Regions from separate parts of the Homo sapiens genome. Here all the other regions are linked to region 4. Evidence: promoter capture Hi-C in 16 types of primary human blood cells and fetal thymus (Javierre and others, 2016). All regions are on one chromosome and are shown on one strand. Each heading gives the region's core, a stretch centred on a gene start or on the middle of the fragment in contact. The rest is flanking DNA. Distances are from core to core; before and after follow the strand shown. Region 1 has its middle 42 kb from the start of PDZD2. Region 2 overlaps TARS1-DT (TARS1 divergent transcript). Region 3 overlaps DROSHA (drosha ribonuclease III). Region 4 holds the start of ZFR (zinc finger RNA binding protein). Region 5 overlaps DROSHA (drosha ribonuclease III). Region 6 overlaps C5orf22 (chromosome 5 open reading frame 22).

Evidence for each region. Contacts are between HindIII fragments. The CHiCAGO score rates a contact against its expected background, and 5 or more counts as called.
Region 1: a fragment that was not itself captured here is called in contact with the fragment with the promoter of ZFR in region 4 in 1 of 17 cell types (monocytes); the score reaches 6.4 in monocytes.
Region 2: a fragment that was not itself captured here is called in contact with the fragment with the promoter of ZFR in region 4 in 1 of 17 cell types (fetal thymus); the score reaches 6.8 in fetal thymus.
Region 3: a contact is called between a fragment that was not itself captured here and the fragment with the promoter of ZFR in region 4, in 9 of 17 cell types (total CD4 T cells, non-activated CD4 T cells, monocytes and 6 more). The highest score is 7.9, in total CD4 T cells.
Region 5: a fragment that was not itself captured here is called in contact with the fragment with the promoter of ZFR in region 4 in 1 of 17 cell types (total CD4 T cells); the score reaches 5.2 in total CD4 T cells.
Region 6: a fragment that was not itself captured here is called in contact with the fragment with the promoter of ZFR in region 4 in 9 of 17 cell types (naive CD8 T cells, total CD8 T cells, total CD4 T cells and 6 more); the score reaches 11.9 in naive CD8 T cells.

The regions. Positions count from the first base shown.
Region 1 is chr5:31,596,186-31,599,010 of GRCh38, forward strand. No RefSeq gene overlaps it. Among named protein-coding and RNA genes, the nearest start is that of PDZD2, 42 kb to the right of the region's middle. The HindIII fragment of the contact is 1,541 bases long and covers 655-2,195 here.
Region 2 is chr5:33,426,465-33,429,332 of GRCh38, forward strand. The region is part of intron 1 of TARS1-DT (TARS1 divergent transcript); the gene reads right to left. Among named protein-coding and RNA genes, the nearest start is that of TARS1-DT, 13 kb to the right of the region's middle. The HindIII fragment of the contact is 7,594 bases long and covers 1-2,868 here.
Region 3 is chr5:31,519,578-31,522,545 of GRCh38, forward strand. DROSHA (drosha ribonuclease III) reads right to left here. Exons shown (of 36, transcript NM_001382508.1): 6 at 1,546-1,638. Among named protein-coding and RNA genes, the nearest start is that of DROSHA, 11 kb to the right of the region's middle. RefSeq lists an enhancer at 2,601-2,770. The HindIII fragment of the contact is 1,508 bases long and covers 533-2,040 here.
Region 4 is chr5:32,443,272-32,446,019 of GRCh38, forward strand. It overlaps ZFR (zinc finger RNA binding protein), which reads right to left and starts at 1,469. Exons shown (of 20, transcript NM_016107.5): 1 at 1,351-1,469; 2 at 958-1,057. The coding sequence starts at 1,387. RefSeq lists silencers at 512-851, 1,082-1,771 and an enhancer at 563-1,120. The HindIII fragment of the contact is 7,512 bases long and covers 1-2,748 here.
Region 5 is chr5:31,476,807-31,479,585 of GRCh38, forward strand. The region is part of intron 16 of DROSHA (drosha ribonuclease III); the gene reads right to left. Among named protein-coding and RNA genes, the nearest start is that of DROSHA, 54 kb to the right of the region's middle. The HindIII fragment of the contact is 479 bases long and covers 1,134-1,612 here.
Region 6 is chr5:31,538,663-31,541,760 of GRCh38, forward strand. C5orf22 (chromosome 5 open reading frame 22) reads left to right here. Exons shown (of 9, transcript NM_018356.3): 4 at 1-27; 5 at 2,287-2,349; 6 at 2,619-2,740. Among named protein-coding and RNA genes, the nearest start is that of C5orf22, 7.9 kb to the left of the region's middle. The HindIII fragment of the contact is 5,751 bases long and covers 1-3,098 here.

The DNA.
Region 1 (2,825 bases), core at 175-2,674, 850 kb before region 4:
CTATCAGACGGTTGGAGGCTGAGGGGGCAGAGAGGAAGACATGTTAGGTTCCCTCTAGGGGAGCTAACTGAAAAACTATAGGTTGAAATTGATATAGTGATACAGGAGTATTTGTTTCACCCATGATTTGTATTGGTTTTTTACTCTGAGGAATGTAACCTCGTAATAAGGTGAGATATATCACTGATAATGTAGCCACAGTGTCATTAAGAGTTTGTGTTTGGTCTCCATTTAAATTAATTCTAACCTTCCCTAAGGTATTTATAAGGAGGTAAGAAAAGGTCCATTTGGTTTCCTCAGAGCATCCTTATTCTTTTTCTTTGACCTGTTGCTGTCATTTCCATTTTAGTTTTCTACAATCCATTTTGAAATATTCAGGCTTTTTGCAGTAATTGCAAAGCAGGGGATTGGGTCAGTTTGGGAACTTTTTAGGCTGTTTAGGGGTTACAAATTGGTTGGACAATTGTTTTAATTGTAAACTCGTGATCTTATTTGCTTTTCCTCCCTGCTTAACTTCCCTTTCCTTTTATTTCTGGGTTAGGGTACAGGACATTTGATCAGCAAAATTAACTAGATCATGAGTTTGAGAGGTACCCCAAATAGGGCATTGTCTTTTTGTTATAACTGCCAATTCTTCACCTAATCCACTTACAAAGCTTGAGTTAAGGAGAATATCATTTTGGTGATTAGTATAACTTTCTTCTGATAAGCCTGAATATTATTTAAATGTTTTTCAAATTTTTCATAGTATGACATTACGGCCTTATCAATATTTTATTTGCATTGTTGTATTTTGTTCCAATCTTTAGAAACCAAAGGGAATAGTGGCTAGTAAAACTTTGGCGGTATTGCAGACCCATTCATGATCCTCTAAAGGATTTCTCCAACTTGCCTTTGCTATCTAATCTTCGGCTTTAATTTCTTTTTTTTTTTTTTTTTTTTGAGACGGAGTCTTGCTTTGTCACCCAGGCTGGAGTGCAGTGGAGCGATCTCTGCTCACTGGAAGCTCTGCCTCCCAGGTTCACACCATTCTCCTGCCTCAGCCTCCTGAGTAGCTGAGACTACAGGCGTCCACGACCACGCCCGGCTAATTTTTTGTATTTTTAGTAGAGACAGGGTTTCATCATGTTAGCCAGGATGGTCTCGATCTCCTGACCTCGTGAACCACCTGCCTCAGCCTCCCAAAGTGCTGGGATTACAGGCGTGAGCCACATGCCCAGCCTGGCTTTACTTTGTAACACTAAATGTGAACCAACTGAAATAAATCAGAAAATCTAGGATTATAAGTGTGAATGTTTAATTCAAATTCTCTAGCAAATTGTGCTCACTTCGGCAGCACATATACAAATTCTCTAGCAAATTAACCAGGCATCGTGGTGCATGCCTGTAATCCCAGCTACTTGGTAGGTTGAGGTGGGAGGATCATTTGAGCCCAGGAGGTGGAGGTTGCAGTGAAGCGAGATTACACCACTGCACTCCAGCCTGAGTGACACAGCAAGACCCTGTCTCAAAAACAAAACAAATTCTCTAGCAAATCCAGTAGCGGTCCTGAAGAGGATCCAGGAATTCTTTAAACCAAGGCAGATTCTCCTCTACTAGACATAGGGTATTCCCAAAATGGAGTCAGAACAGCAGAAGGAGGAGGCAGAGGTGAAGGAAGGAAGGAAGGGAGGAAGGGAGGAAAGGAGGAAAGGAGGAAAGGAAGAGGGAAGGAGGGAGGGAGGGGTGAGGAGAGAGGGAAGGTAAGTCCAAACAAAGAAGTTTTGACAAAAGAGAAAGAAGAGCTGAAGAAGGAGAAATTTCAGCAGTCTTTTTCAATTTAAAAATTGTTTTAGGGCCGGGTGCGGTGGCTCACGCCTATAATCCCAGCACTTTGGGAGGCCGAGGCGGGCTGATCACAAGGTCAGGAGATCGAGACTATCCTGGCTAACACGGTGAAACCCCATCTCTACTAAAAAATACAAAAAATTTAGCCGGGCGCGGTGGCGGGCACCTGTAGTCCCAGCTACTTGGGAGGCTGAGGCAGGAGAATGGCGGGAACCCGGGAGGCAGAGTTTGTTTGCAGTGAGCAGAGATCACGCCACTGCACTCCAGTCTGGGCAACAGAGCGAGACTCCGTCTCAAAAAAAAAAAATTGTTTTAGGCACTTTTGTTTTCTTCTTGCAAAGAAATGATTTTATCAGAACCTCTTTTGAAGCTTCCAAGTACCACTGAAAATCAATCTGCCAGTTGCTTTATTTTATTTTAGTGCCAGCTTTTTCTAATTGAGTGTGCAAACTAGGTTAGGTACTTAAAAGTTACCCCCATTTGGCCATTATAATTTGGCTCATTTGGTCATTGTGAGTTATGTGAGACCATTTTTCTAAATATTTGCATATAAAAGTGCCATAAATATTAAAAATGAATCTAGCTGATGTTTCTAAGGGTGGATCTCTCCATAAGGAAGAAGACTCAGTTTTAGAAGTATGATTGCTCAGAATTTAGACTTTACTTTTGAATGACCAAAAAGACCTAGTGGGAGGTGTTTTGGATTGAGTGTGCTGATTGTGGGAATAGCTCTTCAAAGTATCACCCTGGAGTCAGTTCTTCTCGTTTATGTGTCTTGGTGGTCCCAAGAGACTTGAGTGCTTAAGGCACTAGGTGATCAACTTGTATGTGTGCTCACAGGATTAAGCAAAGTTCCCCATATATTCTTCTGAAGGGATTCCCTTTAGAACAGTTTATGTCATGAGCGATAAGCTCCAACACTCCCTCAAGACCTTACTCACTAAAGGTGCCTTTTGGCTGGGAAAGACAATGTCTCTTATCCTCAGGACTTATCTTGT
Region 2 (2,868 bases), core at 123-2,622, 980 kb after region 4:
AGTGTGTTTTTGTAGTGGCTGGTAATGGTCTTTTCTTTCCATAATTAGTGCCCCTTTCAGGACCTCTTGTAGCACAGGTTTGATAGTAATGAATTCCCTTAGCATTTGCTTATCTAAAAAGGATCTTATTTATCCTTCACTTAGTTTGGTGGGATATGAAATTATTGGCTAGAAATTTTTTTCTTTAAGAATGTTGAATATAGGCCCCCAATCTTTTCTGGCTTGTAGAGTTTCTGCTGAAAGGTCAACTGTTAGCCTGGTGGTTCCCTTTGTAGGTGACCTGCCCTTATTTCTTGCTGCCTTTAACATTTTTCCTTTCATTTTGACCTTGAAAAAACTGATAATTATGTGTCTTGGAATGATCTTCTTGGGTAATAGCTCACGAGGGTTCTTTGTATTTCCCAGATTTGCATGTTGGCCTCTCTAGCAAGGTTGGAGAAGATTTAATGGACAATATCCTAGAATATATTTTCCAAATTGCTTGGTTTCTCTCCTTCTTCCTCAGGCACACCAATGAGTCATATATTGGGTCTCTTTCCACAATCCCATATTTCTTGGAGGTTTTATTCATTCTCCTTTATTGTTTTTTCTTATTTTTGTCTGACAGTTATTTCAGAGGATCAGTGTCAAGCTCTGAGATTTTTTTCCTCAGCTTGGCCTATTCGGTTGTTAATACTTGCCATTGCATTATGCAATTCTTGTAGTGTGTTTTTCAGCTCTATCAGATCAGTTTGGTTCCTTTGTATAATGACTATTTTGTCTATCAGTTCCTGTATTTTTTTATTGTGATTCTTAGCTTCTGTGGAGTGGGTTTCAATGTTCTCCTGAATCTCAATGACCTTTATTCCTATGTATATTCTGAATTCTATTTCTATCATTTCAGCCATTTCAGCCTGGTTAAGAATGCTTGCTGGGGAACTAGTGTGATCACTTGGAAGAAAGAAGGCACTCTGGCCTTTTGAGTTGCCAGAGTTCTTGTGCTGGCTCTTTCTTATTGTGTGGGCTGATGTTCCTTCAGTCTTTGAAGTTGCTGTCCTTTGTTTTTGTTTTTGTTGTTGTTTTTGTTGTCCTTTGATGCCCTTGGAAATTTGATTATGTATGATATAAGGTGAGTTCAGTTGATTGGATTCAATTCTTGTTCACTACTGGGTCTTGGAGAAGCCTCCTCTGATTACTGTTTCCATGCCCACGTTTCTTTTGTTGAGTGTTCTGGTCCACTGGGCTCCCTTCGGTAGGGGCTGCAGTTAGTAGACAAGCTGTATCCTTGCCAAGTCAGCCCTAATCTGCTGTCTGGGTACTTCCTGGAAAACATGGGTTGTGCCTGTCTGCAGAATTCAGGCAGAAGTAGGACCTCTGGGTTGTAAACTCTAGTGGATGTGGCCTGTCTGGCTATGGGAGGGGAGGATGGATGGAGTTGCCTGCCCTGCTGTAGGGGTTTTCAGGGCAACAGGAGGCTGAACTCTTTGGTAAATTCAGGCAGAAGTAGAACCACTGGGCGAGAAGCTCTAGCAGATGTGGCTCCCCTGGCTACCAGTGGTGGGAGTGGGTGAGGATAACTGCCTTGTTGTCCAGATGCTTCCTGGAACAACAGGAGGCTGCACCCACTAGCTGAATTTCCACAGAAGCAGGATCGCTGGGCCCAAAGCTCTACAGGTGTTGCCCACCTAGCTATCAGTATCAGAAATGTATGGGATCATGCACCCTACTGTCTGGGTGTTTCCCAGGACAATAGGAGACTGCACTCTCTGGCTGAGTTCACACAGAAGTGGGACCACTGGGCTAGAAGCTCTAGCAAGCATTGGCCACCTGGCTAGCACTGGGGTGGTGTGGGTGGGTGGAGTGGCTGGCCGAGTTTAGGGGAAAGAGAGACTGCTGGACTGGAAGCTCCGAGCCACGTTCAGCAAGAGGGGGTGGAGCAATCTTACTGTTCCCAGGCACCACAACTGTGGCCTCTATTGGGGCTGATGTGCTGGTGCTAGTCTGCTTCACAGCCCAAGGCTTGTAGAGGTCCCCTTGAATCCAAGAGTTGCTCCCACATCTGTGTGGCTCTCTGCCTCAGTCTAGAAGCATAGTGCAGGGGGAGGGGTCATGGGAAGGCTGAGGGGATTGTCCTATTCCCAGTCTTTAAAGCATGAATCCACCTGGGGGCTCTCTCTCACTCTTTGCCATGTTGGAGAGGTTCTCCTGACTCTACGCTGAGCCCACACAGGCTGGTGCCCACCTTTGCTCCTCTCTGCTCCCTGTGTTCTCCTGCTGCCTTGATGGATCCCAACATGGCTTCTCAGATGATTGACCTGCAGGGTCAGTGTTCACTAGCCCTTTTGTTTCCTTTTTGTGAGAATGGCGCATATGAGCTCCTTCTAGTCCTCTATCTTGGCTTCATCCCCTGTATTGCTTATCTTTATGTTGAGATATTTTATTTCTTCAAGCAGACTGTAAACTCTCTAAAGGCACAAATCACAGAACAGCCTAAAACAAAATAGGCATTAGTAGATATATTCTTGAGGAACATAAGGTCTAAGTTGTATATACTATCCAGATTATGCATTACATTCTGAGAAAATAGTTTATGAGAGTTATTTCCTAAGGAAAAAAAAAAAACTCCTAACTAAATAAAATTTGCAGTAAGAGAGAGAATCTTTGCTTTTGTTGCAATTTCTTTTGATGTTTTTGTCATGAAATCTTTGCCTGTGCCTATGTCCTGAATGGTATTGCCTAGATTTTCTTCTAGGGTTTTTATAGTTTTGGGTTTTACATTTAAGTCTTTCATCCATCTTGAGTTAATTTTTGTATAGGAGTAAGGAAGGGGTCCAGTTTCTGTTTTCTACATATGGCTAGCCAGTTTTTCCAGCACCATTTATTAAACTG
Region 3 (2,968 bases), core at 37-2,536, 920 kb before region 4:
GATAAGCAATGGGGCCTCCTTGCCTTTTTTCAAATTTGTATGGGAAAGGCCTGCAGGTTTCAACACCACATTTGACTCTTTGGGGATGGTATCCATCAGGTTCATCGTGAGCTACCATTCTTCATCATGTTAAAGACAACTGTTAATATTTCTAGTTTACTAGTTTTTACTCACATATGGATGCTGATTTTAGTTTAAATACCTAAAAGGTAAGTACTGAGATAACCCTACAGATTTTGACACATACAATACAGATTTTCTAATATTAACTTTTCTATCCATGCAGTCTTGGAATAAACTCTATCTGTTATTTTAACAAACTACTGAAAACATTTGCTAATATCCTAATTCGTGTTTTTATATCCATATTTGTAAGAGAGATTGCTGTGTCGTTTTTGTGTCATTTTTTTTCCCTTGGTTAGGTTTTGCCATCTGGTTTTTCCTGCTACTACAGAATGAGCTGAGCTTTCCTTCCATCTTTTTTTAGTGTTCAAGACCACTTTAAAGCTTTTTTTAGAGGTGGTGCAAAGTAAGCTTTTTCCATTTTTCGAGTTATTGACCTATTAAAGTTTTCTGCTTCTTGTGTGAAATTATTTTTGTTTTCTTAGAAATCAACCCATCACATTCAAGTTAATTTTTTAAACGGTTTTAAATTTTTTAATTTCTTTTCATTCCTGTAACAATACACTTTCTCAAACCTAATGTTATGTAGATTTTTCTTTTATTTCCCACTTTAAAAATTGTATTTGCATTTACTTACAATATAGTTATATCACTGTAGTTCTATTTCCATTTCATTAATTTATCTTTAAATCCCTTTTTCTGCTTTTCTTAAGCTCCACCAATTTCTATAGCCAAGTGCTCAGATAATAATTATATACATAGTTACCATTTATTTGGCACTTACTTCAGGCCCAGTTCTAAGTGTTTGACATGCATTATCTCAATGACCCCTTATCACTCAAGAAGGTACATATAACTGTCCTTATTTTACAAACGAAGACACTGATAACTTTGCCCAGTAATAAAATTGGGAGAGCTAATAACTGACCCCGAATCTGTCAGATTCTAGAGTGCTGTTCTTCATTACCATCATATTAATGTAAGACCACAAAATTTTACTTCGGGATATAGAATTGATTACACCCTTTAAGTTTTGGGTGATAGCAATCTCAATGTCATTTTCTAATGAAAATATGACTGCAGTTTTGCTCTTTTTTTCTGAAACATGTAAATTTAAGAGCATAATTATGAATTTCCAAGGTTTTTTAAAATGATTAATGTATAGTTTTATAGCACTGTGGTCAGAAAAAGTGGTCTGTATAATTTCTAATTTTTGGAAATTTATCAAGATTTTCCTTGTGCATAATCAATGCATCTTGAAAGTAAAGTCTTTTAAATTACAGTCTGCTTTAGCTTTTCACAGGTCATCTTGGACAGACTCTGAGGCCATTATGAAGACTTGGCTGTTGCTCCATACAAGCACAAAATCTGAATTCAAGGAGATAATCCTATGACTTCTTTCAGTGTCAACTCCTTGCTTACCTTCCAGATCTCTTATACTCTTTTTTGTAGGACCTTTCCAGAGATGGTGATCTTCGGTTGTCTCGATGCCTGTGTCTCTCCCGTTCTCGCTCTCTTAAAGGAATTAATACACAGAGCTGTTTTCAACAGAAAGACTCAAAAACACCATCTCTTTTCACTGAATTCATCTTGTAAATAAATGGACCACATCTAGGAATTTTTCAGGCACTGTTCACTGGGGGACATTTTTATGCCTTCTTAATTTATTAGAGGATAAAGGAGCTTTTCACTTTACAGAAGTTAACTAACTTGGAGAATTTTTGCAGTTTTCTTTAAAGAAAGAAGTCATACATGATGCTACGCAATAATGGGAATTTTATCCTAATCTTCCCTTAAAACCTTGCAATCAGCCAATCCTTGGTTATTTAACCTAGAGGGAAAACTCTAAAGAACTCCACATCCTATTGATTTCTAAAAAATGCTCTATTTTACCTATCAAATAAATGTAAATTATAAAGCTTTTATAGTGAAAATTAGGACAAGGTTCTATAATGAAAGAGCTCTTAATGCTTATGGCTTATAGGCTTGAGTTGTAGATCTAGCTATCACTAACCTGCCATGAGGCCATGACTAAGTCACTTGAATGCTATTTTTCATCTGGAAAAAAAACTAAATAGAGATGTTGGGCTTACTTAATGTAAAAAAAAATAGATGAGGAATTTTTAAAACCTTCCAATGTAAAACTGGGGTTTAATAATATTAATAGCTTTTGAGCCTATTTAACAATGAGGACCTAGAAGAGAAATCTGAACTCTAGTGTGTCTGAATCAGAACTACAAGTCTAAAGGAAGTAACCTTCCAATCTTAGAACAGGAAAAATAAAATGCTATATTAACCTGAGTCCAGAAAGAAGACCATTAAAATGTTTGAACTCAAAAATATCCCCCAACCTATCACCAAACAGAAATGTCAATACATTGAAAATAGAACTTACAAAACTGACAGAGATCGGTGAGTGCTTAGGTATTAAAATAGAAATTGCTTTCCACTTAAAGATTCCCCTGTTCTAAAGGAAGACTCCTTTGAATAATGTTTCTGATATATATACAATCCTCAGATATATACCAGCTATCCCAAATAAAGCAGCCAGAGATTTGGATTCTACATTCTTCATCTCATACACTTCTAAAATCAGAGTTTACATTTGGGCAGTAAATCTTAGTTATTGTATAGAAATTAGTGAACCATGCCACATGTCAAAGATATATGTAATTTGTAATGGCACGGCTGTTGAAAAAAATAATTGCGTACATTTCCAAATAAAAACTCTAATTAGAGGATATTTCTAATATATTTTTTTTTACCATATAGCCAATAGAATTTTGCATTTAAGAATAACACTTCTAATGATGACTGGTACCTCTGAGTGGGTAGGACTTGAAAA
Region 4 (2,748 bases), core at 219-2,718:
ATCCACTGTTGTGTTTGTCTTTGGTAAGATGTATAATGAACTACAGACTTCAGAAATGAGAGCTTCCCTTAAAGCAGGGATTTCATCCGGTGCATTACAATGACTCAGTACAATCTCACTTGCATCTTCTTCCCTCCCCACCATTCCCCGCAGGGGAAAGACCCCCGCAAGGAGAATGACAGGCCCACCTGGGGCCTAAACTCCATAGCTCAAACAAGGCTGGGCACTCATTTATCAGCACTAGAAACTTCGCACATCTTTTCCAGTCTAAGAACTACACAATTTACAGGTGGTTGGTATGTGAATCTCTCTCCTTGCAGGAAAAACTAAAGGAACCCGATGAACACAGTGACACCCGCAGTTTGTCAGCAGGACTCGCTAGCGATGGAGCGTCTGGGGAAGAAGCCCCACGGCGGAGGAAAAGGTACCCGAGACAACGACACGTTATCTGGGCTCCGGGGGTTGAAGCACCAGGCGACGACGCAGAGAGGCGTCGCACGAGAAGCCAGTGGACCTGCGACACGGCACTCCCCGTGAGGTCCCTTCAGCCACCCTCTCCATCCCCCAAGTGGGAAGAAGATGGGAGGTGGGGGCTGGACGCGCGGAGGCGGGGACTGGGGGGCCTGCCGGGCGGCGGTGGCGGCTCCGCTCGGCGGCCGCAGGAGGCCATTTTAGTTAAGGGGCCGCTGAAGGGCCCTGAGGCCTCCACGTCCCTACACCTCCGCCGTCTCTACCTCCCCCCTACTGGGGGCCGCTCCCCGCCGCGGGCCGGGCCGGGCCGGGCAAGGCGGGGCGGGGCGGGGCGGGGCGGGAGAGGCCGCCGGGCTGGGCCGGGCCAGGCCTGCAGCGGGCCGGGGCTCTGGGATGGCTGGGGACGGGCGCGGGGGCGTCGCATCGACAGGATCCGGACCGAGGGGAGAGCAAGGGGCGAACAGAGAGAAGGCAGGATGCCGTTACCTATATTGGGCCGCAGCCGCCGCCGCCGCCGCCCCGCTGTGGGTGAATCCAAAGTAGTTGCCGGTCGCCATTTTGGCATCTTCCCCCAGCCGGCTGGGCACTGCGGCGGGCACGAAGAGTCGGGTCCCATGGCGGGACAAGAGACACAGAGGAGCCGAGACGCCGAGGGAGGGCAGGGAGAGAAAGAGAGAGGCGCCGTGAGAGCAGCCCTGGCGGGGCCCAGGCCGCGGCCGCGCCGCCTCCCCCTCCCGCCTCGCACTCCCTCACTCACTCGCACGCCCGGGTGGCGGCCGCCGCCTCCTCCCCGGAGCCTGCCCCAACCCCCGCGGCTCCCCGCTGCCCGGGGCCAGGGAGGGGGCCGGGCAGAGGCCTCGCGGGCCACATTAGACTCACCATAGGTGAAAGAAACTACAGGGCATATGGGAATCATGGGCTCGGGCTGCTGCTGCTGAACTCTGAACTCTCACCCGCTGCCTCCCTCCTCTGCCCCGCTCCTCCTCAGCGGAGAACAGACCGCCGCCTCCGACCGCACTGCGCAGGCGCGCCTGTGCTCGGCATCCTGGGAGCTGTAGTCCCCGCCGTCTTCGCGGCTCCCCCGGGCGCGTGCCGGGGCCTCGGCGGTGCGGGCGCGGGGAAGCCCGCGGGGGAAGAGGGGCCTGGCCTTCTCCGAAGTGGTGGTGACGCCGCGCGGCCGCGGGGCGACGGGGGCGTGTGCCAGAAGCGCCTCGCCTGTCCTCTGGGGAGTCGGGGAGCGTGACCAGAGAGAGTGACGTCTGTTCGCCTTTTTCTTTGCTTTCCACTGGCTTCCTTAACTTTTGCATGTGCACTTATTCCCTGCCTCCCTGTCTTCCTCGCTCATTAATTTTTCATTGGAATTCGAGCTGGGCAATTTAGGATTTTTCCTTATTTCCTGCTTTCCCGCAGCTTTTCCCCAACCTCTGAAGTGCGGAGGGAGGGAGAAGGAGAGGAGAGAAATAGAAAAAGGATGGAGAGTGCTTTTCTGTTGGACTAAAAGCACACCCTAAACATCCCTCCCGGACATACCTCTTGCTATACCCTTTCCTCGACCTGCACCCACTCCCTGAGCCATCCGGCGTATATCGGTCACCCAGCAGGGTGTCAGGCAGTGTTGTAGGTGCTGGAGATACGGCAGAGAACAAAACAAAGTCCCTGTTCCCGTGGAGTTTACGTTCTAGGAGCGGGTATATGTCAGCCAACAGCCGGTAGCCAAAACACAGAAATTCTGTCTGATGGTGACTGGAGCTTCAAGCATAAATAAAGCAGAGTAAGGAAAATAAGGGTAAGGGAGGTGCTATTTCATGTAGAGTGTGGTTAGGGAGACCACTTGAAGGAAGGAAGGACAGGCCTGGGAGATGCCTGCAGGAAGAGCAGCAAGTGGAAGGGTCCAGATGAAGGAATGAATGTTCAAGAGCAAGAAGATCAGTCTGGCTGGAGTCAAGTGAGAGGGAGACCAGATCACGTGCCAGATCTTTAGTGGTAAGGACAGAACAGTACTTGCCCCCATGTAAGCATTTCCTCTTTCCCTCTGTTTCCTCGCTTTCTTCCCTTTAGTTTCTCAGTTCGTTTTCAACCATTCTCTTTCCTCTTCCAGTCCCTCTTCTGATCGTCTAGTTTCTCTGGCCTTATGTTTCGTGTCTTCCATCAAGTACATATGTACTGCCTGCATTTCACCTCTTCCTTACCTTCTCCATGCCCATCCCCCAGACTCCCTGCTCCTCATCTCTCCTCATTGTTGGATATGAACATTAAAAGGAAATGCTGGCCGGGCGC
Region 5 (2,779 bases), core at 123-2,622, 970 kb before region 4:
AAAAAGACACTCCATAAACATTTGTGGAATGACTTTCTAAAGCAGACTAATAACTTGGCCACTCGCACTCAGGCTGCCATGAATTCACTAATGTTAATGAATTGGCTCTTTTGGTTTGTCTGCCTTGCCACTTGTTTATGTTGGGGATTTATGGAGCCATGTCACTGAGGGCTAGGAAGTAATTTTTATCTTGTTGGCTGAAATAAATAGGACATGATATAAATGAGAAATGAGAGCGGGTAAGCTAAGGTTAGCAGGAATTCCGCCAACTCTGGGACTGGAACTGTGACAACAGCTCATTATTCGGGAAGAACTGGAGTTTGTGTTTCAGGGAATGAATCTGGACAGTCATTAATGAACTGACAGACTTTATAAACTGTTTCTTAGAGACCCAATTCTCTCAGTTTATATTGCTTGATTATTTATATGGTTATTTGGGGAGGGGGTAATTTGTTAGAGAATCTGTATTAAGAATATGGCTGCTTATAAGAGTATTTCTCAACTGTTAGTACTCAACTTTAAGAAATACAAAAATATTATCCCCTTTCTCTACACTGACAGTAACTGTATGACTGCGTTTCTGTGTCTTCTGGATATTCCTGCTGAGACATCCTAATAATCTTATTTTCTAAAATACGTATTAACAAGTCTTTTCTAAATTTTCCAAATGTATATTAAGTTGTGGTACTAATAGATGGTTTTGCAAACTACACTTGCCTCCTGGAAATTTTGCAATACTCTCCCACCTCCTGGCCCCCTGCCAGCCACACCTGAGAACTACTGCTCCAGATGGGGCAATTTCAAAGAATCAATTTTCTAGACAGTCAATTTGCAAAACTGATTCAGGATTTGCAATGCTTTACTAGGGCAGTAATATAAGCAATGAGTAGGCTTTCCCCTAAGTGTGATCTCACTATCTTGAATCACGACCTACCTTTGCCCCAGTTACACTCAGAATAAAACCTTATACTCAGTCTAGTTCATATCAACTATTTTGCGACCAAAGGTAGAGAGTGGGATAGGAAAGAAACAAAAATTTGAGAAAAAATTTTAAATCTCAATAAACTGATTGCTCTATGATTTGGTTTCTGGTAAACTGGTCAACATTGAATAATCCTTGGTTTAAACTATCAAGCTTACTTTTGGGTAAAGTTGTATAAAGCAACTGGGACAGCTATCTTCAAAAGGGATAAACTGAAGAATTAGAGAAATATGATGATGACTTATAAAACTTGAATTTTCAGTTAGATATTATAATAAACTGACATAAACAAAAAGCAAGTCAGAATGAGAAAACCATAAAATACCTGAAAAATGCGGAAAGTTACTCATTCTCAAAGAAGTTCAAGAAACATGCAAATAGTAACATCAGACTTTTCGCTTATCAGATGGACTAAACCAGGAATGTCCAATCTTTCAGCTTCCCTGGGCCACAGTGGAAGAATTGTCTTGGGCCACACATAAAATACACTGACACTAACGACAGCTGATGAGATTAAAAAGAAAAATCCAAAAAAAACTCAAAATGTTTTACGAAAGTTTACGAATTTGTGATGGGCCACATTCAAAGCCGTCCTGGGCCATATGTGGCCCATGGGCTGTGGGTTGGACAAGCTTGGACTAAACTGTAAAAGACTAGTAACATCCTGGCCAGGTGTGATGGCTCACGCCTTTAATCCTAGCACTTTAGGAGGCTGAGGCGGGCAGACCTGAGGTCAGGAGTTCGAGACCAGCCTGACCAACATGGCAAACCCCTGTCTCTACTAAAAATACAAAAATTAGCCAGGCATGGTGGCAGGTCCCTGTAATCTCAGCAACTTGGGAGGCTGAGGCAAGAGAATCGCTTGAACCCGGGAGGCAGAGGTTGCAGTGAGCCGAGATGGCACCACCGCACTCCACCCTGGGTGAGAAGAGTGAGACTCTGTCTCAAAAAAAAGACTAGTAACATCCAGTATTGGCAGGTGTATAGAAAAAGAGTACTTTCTGTTGGTCAGAAAGAGTACTGTTGGTCAGAACTACAAATTGGTATGTCCTTTCTAGAGAAAACTTGGCCAACATCATTCTGAATTTAAAATGTACATACTATCTTAACACATAATTTCACTACTAGAACTCTACCTTACAGAAACAAACAAATGCAACAGGATAGACACAGACTATTTCTGAAGCATTTATACAAAATGGGGAAACAATGGAGAACTCCAGAATATTTGTCACCATAGGAATTATAAACAAATTAATGTCCATCCATACTATAAAATGCTAAGTATGCATCAAAGAATGAAGCAAAGCATTTACAGTACAGAGAATGCCTGAAGTATCTGAGTTTAAAAAAAAAAGGAAGTTGTGTAACATATTGTTATTCCACTTGAAGAAAAAAAGCATAATTCTCCTTAAAGCAGTTAAAACAATACAAATCAAGCCATTTACAGCATTTACCCATTTTCACATGTTCAGAAGGAAGTGTTCACTGTTTTTACTTTACATACTTTTGTATTGTTTGTATACACACACATACACACAGAGTCAACTCAATCAAAAGCAAAAGCAACACTTCAATTTTCTAAAGAAAGAAATTGTTCTTTTCAATAAATGGTGCTGGGTCAATTGGATACCCACGTTGAAAATACTGAGTTTTGACCCATATCTCATACGAATTGTGAAAACAAATTCAAGACTGATTACAGCTCTGAAAGTGAAGAAAATATAAGTGAGTATCTTGACTTTAGGGTAGGCGAAAATTTCATAAATATGATACAAAAAGCTCTAATCATAAAGG
Region 6 (3,098 bases), core at 394-2,893, 900 kb before region 4:
AATCCCTTCAAAGAAATGTTCACTCAGGTAAATAATTGTGTTTTTAACACATAGATCTTGAGAATTGTATGGCTTTTCTCTAGATGAGGAACCAGCAAACTCTTTAAACAGCCAGCTAGCAATTATTTTAGGCTTTGGGGTTCACATTCTCTACTAATACCCTTTTCTGTTGTTTTCTAAACCTTTTAAAGTTGTATATACCATTCTTAACTTGAGGGCCATACACAAACAGGCTATAGGCTGTGGATTGCCAACTCCTGCTCTAGATAGTATTCATTATTTTGCATTTATTAATTGGGGTAATGTATACATGGGTGATGGATAAAAATTAAGTCATACAGTACAGGTATATACAGTCAGCCCTCTGTATCCGTGGGTTCTGTATTCCTGGATTTAACCAGCCACAGATAGGAAATATTCAGAAAAAATAAAAAACAACTAGAAATAACAATACAAGAGTAAAAAATAATACAAATAAAAAACAATACAGTATAACAACTATTTACATAGGATTTACACTGTATTAGATACCACAAGTAATTTAGAGATGACTTAAAGTATATGAGAGGGTATGCATATGTTATATGCAAATACTACACTATTTTATGTCAGGGACTTGAGCATCCACAGATTTTGGTATCCACAGGAGGTCCCAGAACCAATCCCCCACGGATACCAAGGGACAAGTGTACATTGAAAAACAGCACTCTCTTATCCCCATTCCCTCAGTTCTTTGCTTCAGAAACAAATACTGTGATCAGTTTCTTGTGTATCTTTCCAGCGATATTCTATATATAAATCCTGTGTAACAGATTATTCCTTAAACAGTGATGTGCCTGATTACTCACCTAAATATTTGTAATAAATATTTGTAATGAAAGTTTCTAGAAGGTTACATAAGGAATTCAGTGGCAGTTATTCCTTTTAGAGTGCTATTAGGAAACCTGGGAACACAAGGATTTGTATAGCCTAAATACCCTTTGGTACAATGGACTTTTTAAAAAGCATATATTAAACTTTATTATTTAGTAGCAATTTTTTAAATATCATTAGGAAAGACAGATGTTCATCTTTTTTTTTTTCTTAAGAGCATGTTCAGGCTGGGCATGGTGGCTCATGCGTATAATCCCAGCACTTTGGGAGGCCAAAGCAGGAGGACCACTTGAGCCAAGGAGTTTGAGAACAGCGTAGGCAACGTAGCAAGACCCCATCTCTATTAAAAAAAAATTTTTTTTTTAATTTAGCCAGGCATAGTGGCACGTGCCTGTGGTCCAGCTACTCAGGAGGCTGAGATGGGAGGATCACTTGAGCCTGGGAGGTCAAGGCTGCAGTGAGTCGTGATCGCACCCCTGCACTCCAGCCTGGGTGACAGCGAGACCCCATCTCATAAAAAAGAAGCATGTTCAAAAGTTAGGGGAGTTAAGTTCTGTTGTTAACTCTACTGCTTATTAGCTATATGATCTTAGGAAAATTACTTAACCTTTCCGACCCATAGTTTCTTCAAGTATCAAATCAGAATAATAATCATACCCAACTCAGGATTGTTATAATGAATAAAGCACTGAAGATATGCCACAACATTGTGCTTAATGAATTTTAGCCCTTGGGTATAACCTTTTCCTGAGAATACTCCTAAATAGGATTACTGGGGCCAGGTGTACCCACCTATATAATGGATCCATGTAGCTGTGCTAAACAAGGGGAAACATTATCCTACAAAGTTTGTATAGCAAGCCTCTTTCTCCCCTTGTGTGGTGCCTCCTGACCGAGGTTCTATGTCTTTGACATTCTACCTCCAGTATTGCCTTTGTACTTCAGAGATCTCTTCTGTTGTTAGAGAAATGGCTGCAAAGTGAACATAGGGAGTTCTTTGTTGTTGTTATTAAAGATATGTATATTTCCTGTAAACAGCTAAGTCTGTTTAGATCCTAGGACATGGCATTTATATAGCAGAATATTATTTAAAATATTTTCATCTCGTGACCCATTAGCCACCAAGTATGCTTCCTTAGGTAATTTTTACATAGTAGTACCATGCCCAGCTGGATAGAGTTGCCTTGAAGAAGTGATATTTACAATAAAACAAAATTTTACAATATTTACAATAAAATTATTACAATAAAAATCTAAAGTATACATTTTGCCTGATTCTCCCATACATACCTTTAAATAATTATCTAAGATGTTCTTGTATCACAAGGAAGGTTGTCTCTTCCTTAAAGCATATCATTAAAAAATTTTAACTTTTTTTTTTCTGGTATGTGGATTTTTTGTTTTGTTTTCCAGGAAGAGTACAAAATCTTACAAGAGCTGTACCAATTTAAGAAACCTGGCACCAACCTAACAGAGGTATCCTCCATTTGTTTCTTTGGGGTTTTATTCATTTATCATATAACTAATAATATCTTGCAAATTACCACAGTGATCTCAAAGACTGCTCAAAGTGTGTGTGTGTGTGTGTGTGTGTGTGTGTGTGTGTGTGTGTGTATTGGCGAAGCCCATGGTTAGTACTTGAAAATTATGTTTTAACTAATAGAGCCAAGTTTTTTTTGTAATGGGATGTTGCTTGTTTTTTGAAAGAATAACTATATAATCTCAGCTTTTCAATGTATTTAAAGGAAGATTTGGTAGATATTGTTGATACTCGAATTCATCAATTAGAGGATTTAGAAGCCACTTTCGCTGATTTGTGTGATGGTGATGATGAAGAAACGGTACAGAGATGGGCTTCAAACCCTGGGTAAGACTCTCAAACATTTTTTTCCCCCAACTCTACTAACTTTCAGTCCTAGATATGTTCCTAAATTTGCAAGATACATTGCTTTTAAAAAAGTAGTATTCAGCTACTTGGGACACTGAGGCAGGAGAGGACCACTTGAGGCCAGGAGTTCCAGACCAGCCTGGGTAATGTAACAAGACCCTGTCTCTAAAAAAAGGTTTTTTAATTAGCCAGATATGGTGGCACCTACCTGTAGCCACTACAGCCACTGCTCCCAGCTACTTGGGAGGCTGAAGTGGGAGGATTGCTTGGGCCAAGGAGTTTGAGGCTGTAGTGGGCTGTGATCATGCCACTGCACTCTACCCTGGGTGACAGAGAC